Regions from separate parts of the Homo sapiens genome. Here region 1 is linked to region 2. Evidence: promoter capture Hi-C in 16 types of primary human blood cells and fetal thymus (Javierre and others, 2016). All regions are on one chromosome and are shown on one strand. Each heading gives the region's core, a stretch centred on a gene start or on the middle of the fragment in contact. The rest is flanking DNA. Distances are from core to core; before and after follow the strand shown. Region 1 overlaps LOC399975 (a long non-coding RNA gene). Region 2 holds the start of APLP2 (amyloid beta precursor like protein 2).

Region 1 (5,613 bases), core at 1,435-3,934, 790 kb before region 2:
ACAAAGTATCCTCTCCAATAGTACATCACAAGTCCTCAAACTGCCAGATCATTCCACTATCTCCTTGCTTACTTATAATATTCCTTTTCATAAAATAGTTTGTCTCCCCATGAAATGAACACCTCCTGAGGGCAAAGACTCAATGACACCTTCTTACCTATCTATCTTCCACTGCTTGAAGCATGGCAGGAGACACACAGATGTACTCAGTGGATACTTGTCAGTTCACAGATACAAAGAGATGTGGTTTCCCTTATCCTACTGTGTCAGGATTGCTATTCCTACTTAATCTGGAGGGCCACTGAATATAAAACAAGAAGGAAGGTCTGTCAGATTCTCCTTAGGTAGGTCAATGGAAACTGGACCTTTGGAGACAGAAATTACTTGTCCAAAGTCACAAGCTGTTTACAACAGAGCCAAGACAAACATCCAGGTCCTCTTGACTCCAGGTTCAAAACTCATTTTCCTGTTAAAAGTTGCTTCACTTTTTTGGTCTGTGTTTGATATCCTGGGTAATTACTGAACTTCACATGATATATTCTGCACAGCTACTGAAGATGCTACTCATCTTAAGAGTCCTTCAACCACCTATATTTCTCCAATGAAAGGAGGAACAGGAATTACTGTTTCCATGCTACACACAGGGAATAAAAGCAGTGGAGTCAAATGGCTTGCTTCACATCACAAGGCTGAAATCCAAATAAGGATTTTACTATTTTTAGGGCAAACTGATAGAATTTTCTAGAAGATTCTCTCCTAGAGTATGATGCTTATCTTTTCAAACAGAGACAAATTGGACATAACATTTCCATAATGAATGGTTCACACATGCTTTTCCTCTCAATGCTTTCCATCTCCACAGCCTCCAATATTATGTATATTATAATCCAGGATATAAAATAAAATAGTAAATAGATACATAGCCGGAAGCAAAAAAAAAAAAACAACTGTGTTTTGAAAGCCAGAATTTTACTTCTATTCTGAACATTCAGATTCATGTTTTTCTCATGAGAAATTAAACCAAACACCCATTTCTCACTTCCTCTTACTTGTCCTACAACAATCTCCTTTAAATACAAGACTAGCCCTCCCTTGTCCAGTAAAACTGAAAATATCTACTTTATAAAATCCTTACACTTTACTACCTTGGGGAATATTCCTGCTCAAGCTTCATCTCTCCAGATAGGAAACGTCTGGTTTGGTTTGTTTTTTAACCTCAAGAGAAAACTCTGTCGCATCTCATCTTCTTTAGGTCTACTTTTTTTGAGGTGCTATAATCAGAACACCTTTCCAGGTGCTGTTCCCTGGTTTTGTGGAAGAGCCCTTCTGCCTCCATCTCACTGTTCCACCGAGGACAGCGTGGGAACATCAGTGCCCTCCCCTGTCTCCTCTGGATCATCTCACTTCACTGAAGCATCAGCTAAGGCCAAGAAACTGTACAGTTTGTAGAACTGCAAGAGCCACAATGACCCCAATTCTATTTTGTTTAACTCAGAACAATGGCCTTTTTTATTTGCTCACTCTTAGTTTGAGATTAATGTTAATAAACCAGCATTTGAAGTTGAGAGGCACACCAAATTTCTCAACTGTAAGATAATTTAAATCAAATACTTCAAAAAGCAGTGTAATATAAAAGTCTCTGGATAGTAAACTAGATCTATTTAGAAAAAAAAAATTAGCTTTTATTATTTCAACTCTGAGAAGCATGCCATAAAGATGTTAATGCAAATCATAAGGAAGACTTTAGAGTACATATACATATGGGGAAAATTATCCAACCCTGGCCTAATCAAAACCGACTTTTCTCATTCATCTTTCTAAAAAAAAAAAAAAGCCAGTACCAGTACCAAAATAGAAGTGGTATTTAAATCCAATTTATAAACTTAAGAACATTATCGGGAAATTATCAAGAATCAGGATCTATAAAAAACAGAAGTATCTTTCCACCCATTCTTAATGATCTGAAGTCAGCAAGTGATTAATAAAAATACACTACAGCATACAGGAAATTTCTCAAGTTATTCCGCTTATCAGCTGTTAACTAAGTTTCAGCAAAGGAGAAAATTCTATAGCAAACAGCATAACACTCAGGAAAATAACTCTATAATCTGGAGGTGATGGTAATATAAAATATTTTAGGCATACTTTCAGGTTAGAGTTTCTAATCATCATCATCTATCACTTACTGAGTGCTTACTGTATGTCAGAGATTGTGTTAAGCCTTAATATGTACCATTTCATTTAATCCTCACTACAACCTTCCAAGGTAGATACTACTGATATTCCCTGGTCACAAAGGAAATCTCTGAGGTCCCACGACATTAATTAGTTTGTCCAGGATCAATGTTTATAAATATCATAGCTGGTATGTGAACTCAAGTCTATCTGGCTCCAAAACAAAAATTAGTACCTTTCCAGGATTCTTAACCTTATAATGGCTATGATAGGAAATAGCACATATGCTAATTAAAGTAAAAAAAAAAGTTAAGTCCTAAATCGGGGGTTGGAAAACTTTTCTTTTAAAGAACCAGATAATAAATACTTGAGGCTCTGCAGGCCGAGCTATGAAAGTACTCCACTCTGCTGCTGCACTGCCAAAGTAGCCACAGACCCAAGAATGAACGACTGTGTTCCTACAAAACTTTACTGAAGGACACTGACATTTGCGTTTTATATCATTCTCATGACATGAAATTTTATCCTTCTTTGGATTGTTTTCAACCATTTAAAAATATAAAAATCATTCTTAGCCATGGGCCAGATATGGCCTGCAGGCTACAGTTTGCCCATCCCTTCCCTAAATAATGCAGACAAATTTAAAATATTTTTTACTAAACAGTTCTTACAAATCATTAACTTGTAACCTCCTTTGGTATTGTGAACTGATACTTTAAAGAAGTTCAAAGTCTTGTCCAGCCTTGGCACAGGCCAGTAGTCCCAGCTGCTCAGGAGGGCAACGCAGGAAGATCGCTTCAGCCCAGAATTTGGAGGCCAGCCTGTGCAACATAGCATGACCCTGACTCTATTAAATTTTAAAAAGCAGCAGCAGCAGTAGCTCACAGTCTCAATAAATTTGATCTGTCTCCAAGTAATTGAAAATTCCAGAGAGTTCAAAATTGCAAGTACTACCGGTGGATTTTCTAAATAAGACAGAGCACAGAATTTTGGAACTAGAAGAAATCTAACACGTTCTCATTCCTTATCTGTTTTTGTTGTTGTTGTTGTTGTTTTGAGACAGGATCTCACTCTGTTGACCAGGCTCAAGGGCAGTGGCACAATGATAGCTCACTGTAACCCCTAATTCCTGGGCTCAAGTGATCCTTCCATCTCAACCTCCCGAGTAGCCAGGACTACAGGTGTGTGCCACTACACTCAGCTAATGGTTTTTATTTGATTTTCTGTAAAGACTGGGCCTCTCTATGCTGCCCAGACTGGTCTCAAACTCCTGGCCTCAAGGGATCCTCCCACCTCTGCCTGCCAAAGCATTTGATTAGAGGTGTAAGCCACCCTGCCCAGCCTTTATATGCATGTTTTTTAAATTTCTGTTACAACATTTAAAAGAGTTTGCTAGGCCAATTTACCAGGTAACATAGGTTAGTAACTAAGTTTATACGTAATGACAATACTTTACATATTTAAAAACAGTTCTGCAGAGCATTTTCATATCCTTTCTATCATCTGATCCTTCACAGCTCTGTAAGAAAAACAATGCAAGCCTTCTGATCCCTATTTTATAAAATGCAAACAAGCTCAGAAATGTAAATAACTTGTCCAAGGAAGGTACGCTGTCACACAGCTACTATGGGGCAGAACTGCAACCACAACCTAACTTCAAGTCCTTGCTGCCTCCTGACTACTTCCATGGACATTGGACTTCACAATCATGGGTTAAATCCGAAAAATTCTCAAGAATATTAGTCTTACTCTTTAAAAGTTCAACTATGTTAAGTTCCTTTTTGTTTCATTCTTCTGCTACCACAGCCTTATGAAGAAAACAGATGCCTAGTCCTTAACATTTATTACATGCGTCTACGATCAACATACAGTGTGCAGATAATATACTCAGGTCAGCTTGGGAAGGAAAACACTTGAATAAGTCAAGAGAGAACAAGCAACAATAAAAACATCGTTTATATAGCACCGAGAGAGAGAGAAAGTAGAGATGAATGTATTGCCATTAGTGTCGCAGGCCAACTTCAGAAAAGCTTTTGGTGACTGGAAAATGATACGGAGGTTAGGAAATGAACACAGAAGGAACATAACTACTGGAATTCAAACCAACATCAAAGGCTCTAAAGAAGACAGTTGAGCCTGTCTTGCTGGTTCTTAGTCTCTCCCTAGAAAACAAAACAGTTACATAACTGGAGAAGGTTCTTCCAACTAACATTTCCTCTCTGTCCCACTTATGTTTTTCTCCCCCACTACTTCACCCTGTCACCCACCTCAATGTGAACGATCATACAGTAAACTGGGCTTCCACCTTAGCTGTGTCCAGACAAGTCTCTGTCCAAAGTGCTGCTTTATACACGGACTGCTATAGGGACCACGGTACGAAGATAACTGGCTTAAACACAATTCCAACCTGACATTTCCATAGAGACACCTGCTCTATGAAGCATCACCATATATCCAATTCCAAGAATGACTCAGACTCCAGACATTCCTGAAAATGGAAATCACAACATCCTAATGCCTCATCTTCACAAACAGCCCCATTAAAAAGAAAACACAACATTGAGTACTTGAAAAACTTTGAGGTCATGTTGTAGTAGTAATTAAAGCTTCTCTTTCCTTCACACTCAAGTCCAAGGAACAAATATCGATTCTCAGTTAGACTTCAATGTATCCAATAAGGAAGGATATATTGAGTCACAACCATAAATACTCAAAAATATTACAACAAATCCAGTCACTGATTCAAACTAGCAAACTGTGGAGACTCTTAAGAGCCACCGCACTCCAGCACCATTTGCTTTTTCTTCTTCCAATAGAAATACAAACATAGACAATGTTTACAAAAGCAACCAATGTATCAGAAAAGTTATCCCCATTCAGACTGACTTAAAAGGTCTAAATCTGTGCCAAATAAAACTCTGAAAGAATAGAAAATAAAAGAGATGCTGACAACAATGCTATGGCCCAGCTGCCAGCTAGCCATGTAGCATCACGCAGTGCCCCAAGCATTTTAAAGACAGATTGTAACTCTGCATTCAGATCAAAATTATAATTATCCAAATTCTATTTCCTAAAAGATGACTATTAAACTGCATCCCAAGCATTCTGCTTGGGTCTCCTCCTTCCTTCCATCTTCAAGTTTCACAAACAGAAGGTGAAGCTACAAAAGGTCCAAGGTAGACTAAAGCTAAGAAACCAAGTCTGATTTTCTCTCCCTACCGTTTCTTGTGTACTGCTTAAGAAAATCTTTAACATAAATATTTGATAAAGTCAAAAAACGGGAAACCAAGGTACAGGGGTGGCGAGGAAGCGAGGGGGAAAAAAGGCACTAATGCACCACCGTCGTCCAACATGCAGCGGCAACTTCAGTCAATCGGAAAGACGAGGGGGGAACTCCACGGGAGCCTAAGGGAGCAGAGACCTCTGGCCCCGCGGGGC
Region 2 (5,795 bases), core at 57-2,556:
CGATATTTCAGCCGACTGAGCCGAGGAACAGTGAAAACGCTTCCAACAGGCAGATGTTGGGGAGAGGACATTGCAGGCGCAGAAGAGTGTTAGGAAGGGCTGTGAAATGGAAAGGTGTCGTCTTGGAGGAATCGGGCAGAGCCAGTTTACCCACAGGGAACTGGGCATGTAGGGGAGAGTGGTGCAGAATAAGGCTGGAAAATCCCGAGTTCTTACAGGCGCACTCGTCTACTCCGCGGACAGTCTCTTCCTTTCTATTGTCAGCGTCCTGGGGGTAGGGTTGTGTTATGCATTTAGTTGAACCTGAAGGGACTAGTCCAGGTCTCTCAGAAGGCAGTACCTAACTCACAGGCGACTGAAAGGAAACAAGGCCAGCGGAGCCCTGGCGGTGGCGAGGCTGTGCCAATTGCTAAATGGGGCAGCAGGACGTTTTTCTCTACTGAAGTGGCAATGCCGCGGAGCAGGAAGGCAGAGTAGCAGGTCTCCCGCTAGTGCGTCTCAACCGAAGAAGCGGCGTGATCTCTTCCTAAAACACACGAGGAAGGGGGCCTGGGCTGTGAGGCCGGCGTGGTTCTTGCACCCCTGGTCTCTATCCCTGCCTGGGCAACTGCTGGGAAGGAAGGGTCGGCAAGAGGCCTAAAGACCGGAGGCCAAGGGTGCGGAGCGCGGCCGGACTCAGAGGCGAGGACCCGGCGGAGAGGCCTGGGCGGAGCAGGGCGGGAGAGGCGCGCCCTGAGTAGGGCTCGGGGGAGGACGATGGCTGCCTCCTGCGGTCCTCCCCCTGCCTCGGGGGACGGCCCTTGGCAGACCGTCCCGGACTCCTAATTCATCCTGTTTTTAATAAAACCATTTCCAGAATCAAAAAGAGGGCGGTACCCAAAGGAGTCTGAAGAATGCCCAGCAGGGGCAGGGGAGCGGGGCGTGCCCGTATCGGGAGGCTGAAGGCTGACGGACCAGCGCAGCAGGGACAGATAACCGCGCCGGGGGGCGGAGGCCAGAGCCAGCCCCGCGCCCACAGGGTTGCGGCCCCAGACCCGCCGCGCGCACGCCCCCGCGCCTGGCGGCCACAGGGTCCGGAGCGGGGGCGGGGCCATCCGCGGCCGGGGGCGGGGCCGGGCGGGGGGCGCGCGGTTGGACCGGGCGGGAGGAGCAGGCTCTTCCATCTCCTGATTGGGTCTGGACCGCAAGGGGGCGGGGTCTTGAGGGGTTCTGCGGGCCGGCATTGGGAGCCGCAGAAGGAGGGCGTGGTAATATGAAGTCAGTTCCGGTTGGTGTAAAACCCCCGGGGCGGCGGCGAACTGGCTTTAGATGCTTCTGGGTCGCGGTGTGCTAAGCGAGGAGTCCGAGTGTGTGAGCTTGAGAGCCGCGCGCTAGAGCGACCCGGCGAGGGATGGCGGCCACCGGGACCGCGGCCGCCGCAGCCACGGGCAGGCTCCTGCTTCTGCTGCTGGTGGGGCTCACGGCGCCTGCCTTGGCGCTGGCCGGCTACATCGAGGTGGGGACCGGGCGAACGCCGGAGAGTCGTCTCCTTCGCCCGCCGGAGGAGCGCGGACTGCGGGCGGGCAGCGGGGTCCGCGGCAGGGCGGGCCGGCGGTGCGGCGCCGGGGGTCCGGCTCTGCGGCGGGTCTGGCGCGCCCTCCCCCGCCCGTCCCTGCTTGGCGCAGTGCTTAGCGCTGGAGGTCGGGCTGCCTCAGCCGCCGCAGAGGCCAAATGAAAGGCGTCGGGGCTGCTGGGGGCGGCCGTCCGCCTCGGCCGACCCAGCCCCCAACCCGCCCGCGGCGCCGCCACCTCCTCCGGGGACCCAGTGCCCCCGGGCGCCCGCCCCGCCCTCCCCCGGGACAATGCCAGGGCGCTCCTCTCCCGCCGGAGTCCGCGGCTGGGCTTTCTCCAGGGGCGGCCCCGCGCGGACCCCGTACGCTCCCTCGCGCGGCACCGGGGCCTCGGCTCCGGGCCTCCCACCTGCGAGCGGCGGGCTTCGCCTTTGTTGCCAGGTGGACGCGGCCCCGGCCTTCGCGCGCGGCAGGGATGCTGCGAGCCCCGGGGGAGCTCCCGCGCCAGGCCGCCCGCTGCTCCCTCTGCCGCCTGGGGCCGGGTCGCGGACGCGCATTTTTTAAGTGGCGCTGTTTGCCTGCGTCCGTAGACCGAGGAAACCCGCTCTGGGTGCGTTGACCGCTTTCGTGAGGGTTTCAGTGAGTAGGGAAGGTGCCCGCGAAGGCGTGTAAACTGTTGGAAAAATCGTCCTCTTCGGGTGTCAGAATTCCATCAGTGGTTGTGCTTCGAGGTCGCACCCTGAGCATCCCCGCTGCGAGAAAGGCGAAGCGGCAGGGCCGGGGGTTGGGGAGGCCGCGGGAGGGGGCGGGGGCGGCGGGGTCCGCGGTGCGGGCCGGAGCGGGCAGCCTTGGAGGAGCCCTGCTGTGGCCGAGGGAGACGGCGAGCTTGATCTTTACTTCCCTTCTCGAAGTGGTGCTTGAACTGCTGGTCTGGAATGTGTAGTTCTGGTGTCGTTTATTTCTTCTCCCTCTTCGCTCTTTTAAAAATTACAACTGGTTTCTGCATACTTAGCTAATTTCAGAGAGACCTGAAGACTGGATTTGATTGGGCATTAATTGAGAGCTTTCTTTTAAAGACCTCAGGTTTAGAATATATTTACTTCTACAGAATGTTCAAGTATTTCCACGGGTAAAAATAAATCTAATAAAAAGCCTCTCTGATGGAACGGCTTAACACCTTTGTATTCATCCAGTTTAAAGCTTTGTGACTGTGAGGGTAAGAAAGGAGTTCAGCTTTAAAGAGAAATAGTTAACGTTTATCTACAGAGGATTTTGGATTGCGATTGTTTCAGTGTGTCCACACAATGGTCAGAGTTGTATCTGTGATCCCTGATATGTCGCATGAAAACAGCTAGGTGAGTGAGATGGGAAGAAAAAATAAAGGCTTTCGTATGGAAGATGGGACTTCACTAGTGGGTCGGGTGTCAGAAACCATCGTTCACACTCGCACTCCACTTCCCACTGCTATGACTAATTTGAGGCATTAGTGAATTCACAGTAGAAGACTCAGCAGTTTTAAAGAATTCGTTAATACTTGTGTAGCGGGAAAAAATAATATGAGAATTCATTGTTGTGTGTTAAATTTGATTGTTAGCCACAGCGTTGTTCAGTTGAAAAGTATGGTTGAAGAAAGTAGGAATTAAACATTTCTGAAAAATGGTTTTATGGTAACTCCTGTTCTTTGGAGCTGTATTTTTGCTCACACTTACTAAATGATCTTTCAAGGGGCCTTTTGTCAAGCTATCAGAATTTTATTCATATGAATATAATTTGATTTTGTTTATTTGCTGTCAGGCAAGGGACTGTCGAAGCTTAATTTAGATGAGAGTGGCCTAAATCAGGATGTCTTTGGGAAGGCCCTGATTGAGATTAGCGAAAGGGATTCTGGCCAAATCCCTGATCAAGTTGCTTGGCACAGAATTATTGATTGGCAAATCTTTAGTGTTGCTTGGTGTTGACTGAATTAATCTCTTACACCTGTTTAAAAAGAAAAAGCTCACCTCTGGACTCAGGGTCACTTCCTCTCTTAAATCCGAGACAAGTTCTCCTGTGTGCATGCTCCCATTTGGGACTGAGACAGTATTGTGCTGAAACCCCGCATACTGTGCAGTGGATGACTAGGCTCCTGAGAACCGGAACTTGAGTTTGTTCTGTCACATTTGAAAGAAAGAAGGCCATTTGATTGCCAGTTTTCTGGAAACTCAAACCCAAATTAAAGGATGTCAACTGAGGCAGAGTAGAGAAGGCTTTGTGTTGGTGTTTCTGACAGGTGGTATGGGAGATGTGTAATTGTACCTTGGAGAGAAACCTTGGTGTGCTTCTGATAGGAATATCGTCTTTTTTTTTTTTTTTTTTTTGATACGGAGTCTCGCTCTGTCCCAGGCTGGAGTGCAATGGTGGGATCTCTGGGCTCACTGCAACTTCCGCCTTCCGAGTTCAAGCGATTCTCCTGCCTCAGACTCCCAAGTAGCTGGGATTGCAGGCGCCTGCCACCACGCCCAGCTAATTTTTGTATTTTTAGTAGAGACAGGGTTTCACCATGTTGGCCAGGCTGGTCTGGAACACCTGATCTCAGGTGATCCACCTGCCTCGGCCTCCCAAAGTGCTGGGATTACAGGCGTGAGCCACAGCGCCCGGCCCGTTATTTTTATCATAACTATGTTTTAAAAATCTTTTGATAAATACGATAAACTTCAGTTTTATCAATTAGTTCCTCCTTTTGTAGAGGGAATTTGTTTTACCATCTAAAGCCAGGCTTTCCCAGGGTGTAGCCACAAGCCACATGTGGTTATTGAGTCTGTAGGGTGACTAGTGTGAATGAGGAGTGAATTTTTCATTTTATTTAATTTTAATTAATTTAAGTTTACATTTAAAATCTGATTCAGTGGTTGGAAAACTTTTAACTGAAATAATTTGGTTATGCGAATTTACTTTTAAACTGTACATTTTATGAAATCTAAATGTAGATCAAGTATTTCCTATGAAAATTTAGCTTCTGAATTGAGATGTACTGGAAGTGTAACATACACATCAGATTTTGAAGATTTAATACAGAAGAATTAAAATCTCAATTTTTGTATTGACTAAATTGAAACAATACTTTAGACATGGGCTAAATAAAACATTAAAATTAATTTCACTTGTTTCTTTTCACTCTAATATGGTTCCTAGAAAATTTAATACTATGTATGTGGCTCACATTGTATTTCTGTTAGATGGTGCTGATTTAAAATTTTGCTTAAAGTTGGTCCTGCATATGTTTTTATTAGCAGAATTTTTTAATATGTTCCTATATTTTTCCACATAAAGTCTTGCTGGAAGTTGGCCCAACATGCTCTTAAGTATTTTTGTTAGAACAATTTTGAATGTGTTGATTTTTAAACTTTTTCAATTAAAAATGTTTTACTTAGAAATAACTTTAATCACCAGGCGCGGTGGCTCACGCCTGTAATCCTAGCACTTTGGGAGGCCGAGGTGGGTGGATCACGAGGTCAGGAGTTCGAGACCAGCCTGAGCAACATGGTGAAACTCCGTCTCTACTAAAAATACAAAAATTAGCTGGGCGAGATGGCGTGCGCCTGTAATCCCAGCTACTCAGGAGGCTGAGGCAGGAGAATCTGGGAGGTGGAGGTTACAGTGAGCCGAGATCACACCACTGCACTCCAGCCTGGGCAACAGAGCGAGACTCCATCTCAAGAAAACAAGAATAAAAAAAAGAAATAACTTTAATCTTATAAAAAATGCAAAAATTGTACAATTTTCTTACCCTTTACTCAGATTCACCAATTGTTAACATTTCTTCTAGTCACATTTGCTTTACTACTGCATTTTTTGCCAAATTATTTGAGAGTAAGTTGCATACGTCGTCCCCCATCCCCTTTACCCCTGAGAACTTCAGTATATATTTTCTAAGAGCCAAAGACATTGTCTTACATAGGCTTAGTACAGCCATCAACCTAATGAAATTTAACATTGATACAATACTTGGATCTTATCTGCTGTCGGTTTTCTAGTTAGTTTGTTGACCCAATCATGTTCTTTATAGCATTTGAAAACATGTTTTGTTGTTGTTGTTGTTGTTTTGTTTTTCTTTTTTGAGTTGGAGTCTCACTCTGTCGCCCAGGCTGGAGTGCACTGGCATGATCTCGGCTTACTGCAACCTCCGTTTTTCAGGTTCAAGCGACTCTCCTGCCTCAGCCTCCAGAGTAGCTGGGACTACAGGAGCCCACCACCATGCCTGGCTCA

Evidence for each region. The method cuts DNA at HindIII sites, captures the fragments that hold promoters and counts their contacts. A CHiCAGO score of 5 or more calls a contact.
Region 1: a fragment that was not itself captured here is called in contact with the fragment with the promoter of APLP2 in region 2 in 1 of 17 cell types (fetal thymus); the score reaches 5.9 in fetal thymus.

What each region holds. Positions count from the first base shown.
Region 1 is chr11:129,273,088-129,278,700 of GRCh38, forward strand. The region is part of intron 1 of LOC399975 (a long non-coding RNA gene); the gene reads right to left. It also overlaps a transcript of ARHGAP32 not described here. Among named protein-coding and RNA genes, the nearest start is that of ARHGAP32, 84 kb to the left of the region's middle. The HindIII fragment of the contact is 3,037 bases long and covers 1,167-4,203 here.
Region 2 is chr11:130,068,588-130,074,382 of GRCh38, forward strand. It overlaps APLP2 (amyloid beta precursor like protein 2), which reads left to right and starts at 1,307. Exons shown (of 17, transcript NM_001142276.2): 1 at 1,307-1,495. The coding sequence starts at 1,391. LOC107984432 (a long non-coding RNA gene) reads right to left here and starts at 1,062. Exons shown (of 2, transcript XR_001748444.2): 1 at 877-1,062; 2 at 1-526. RefSeq lists enhancers at 1-498, 499-999 and silencers at 916-1,145, 1,536-1,665, 1,736-2,195. The HindIII fragment of the contact is 4,769 bases long and covers 1-2,748 here.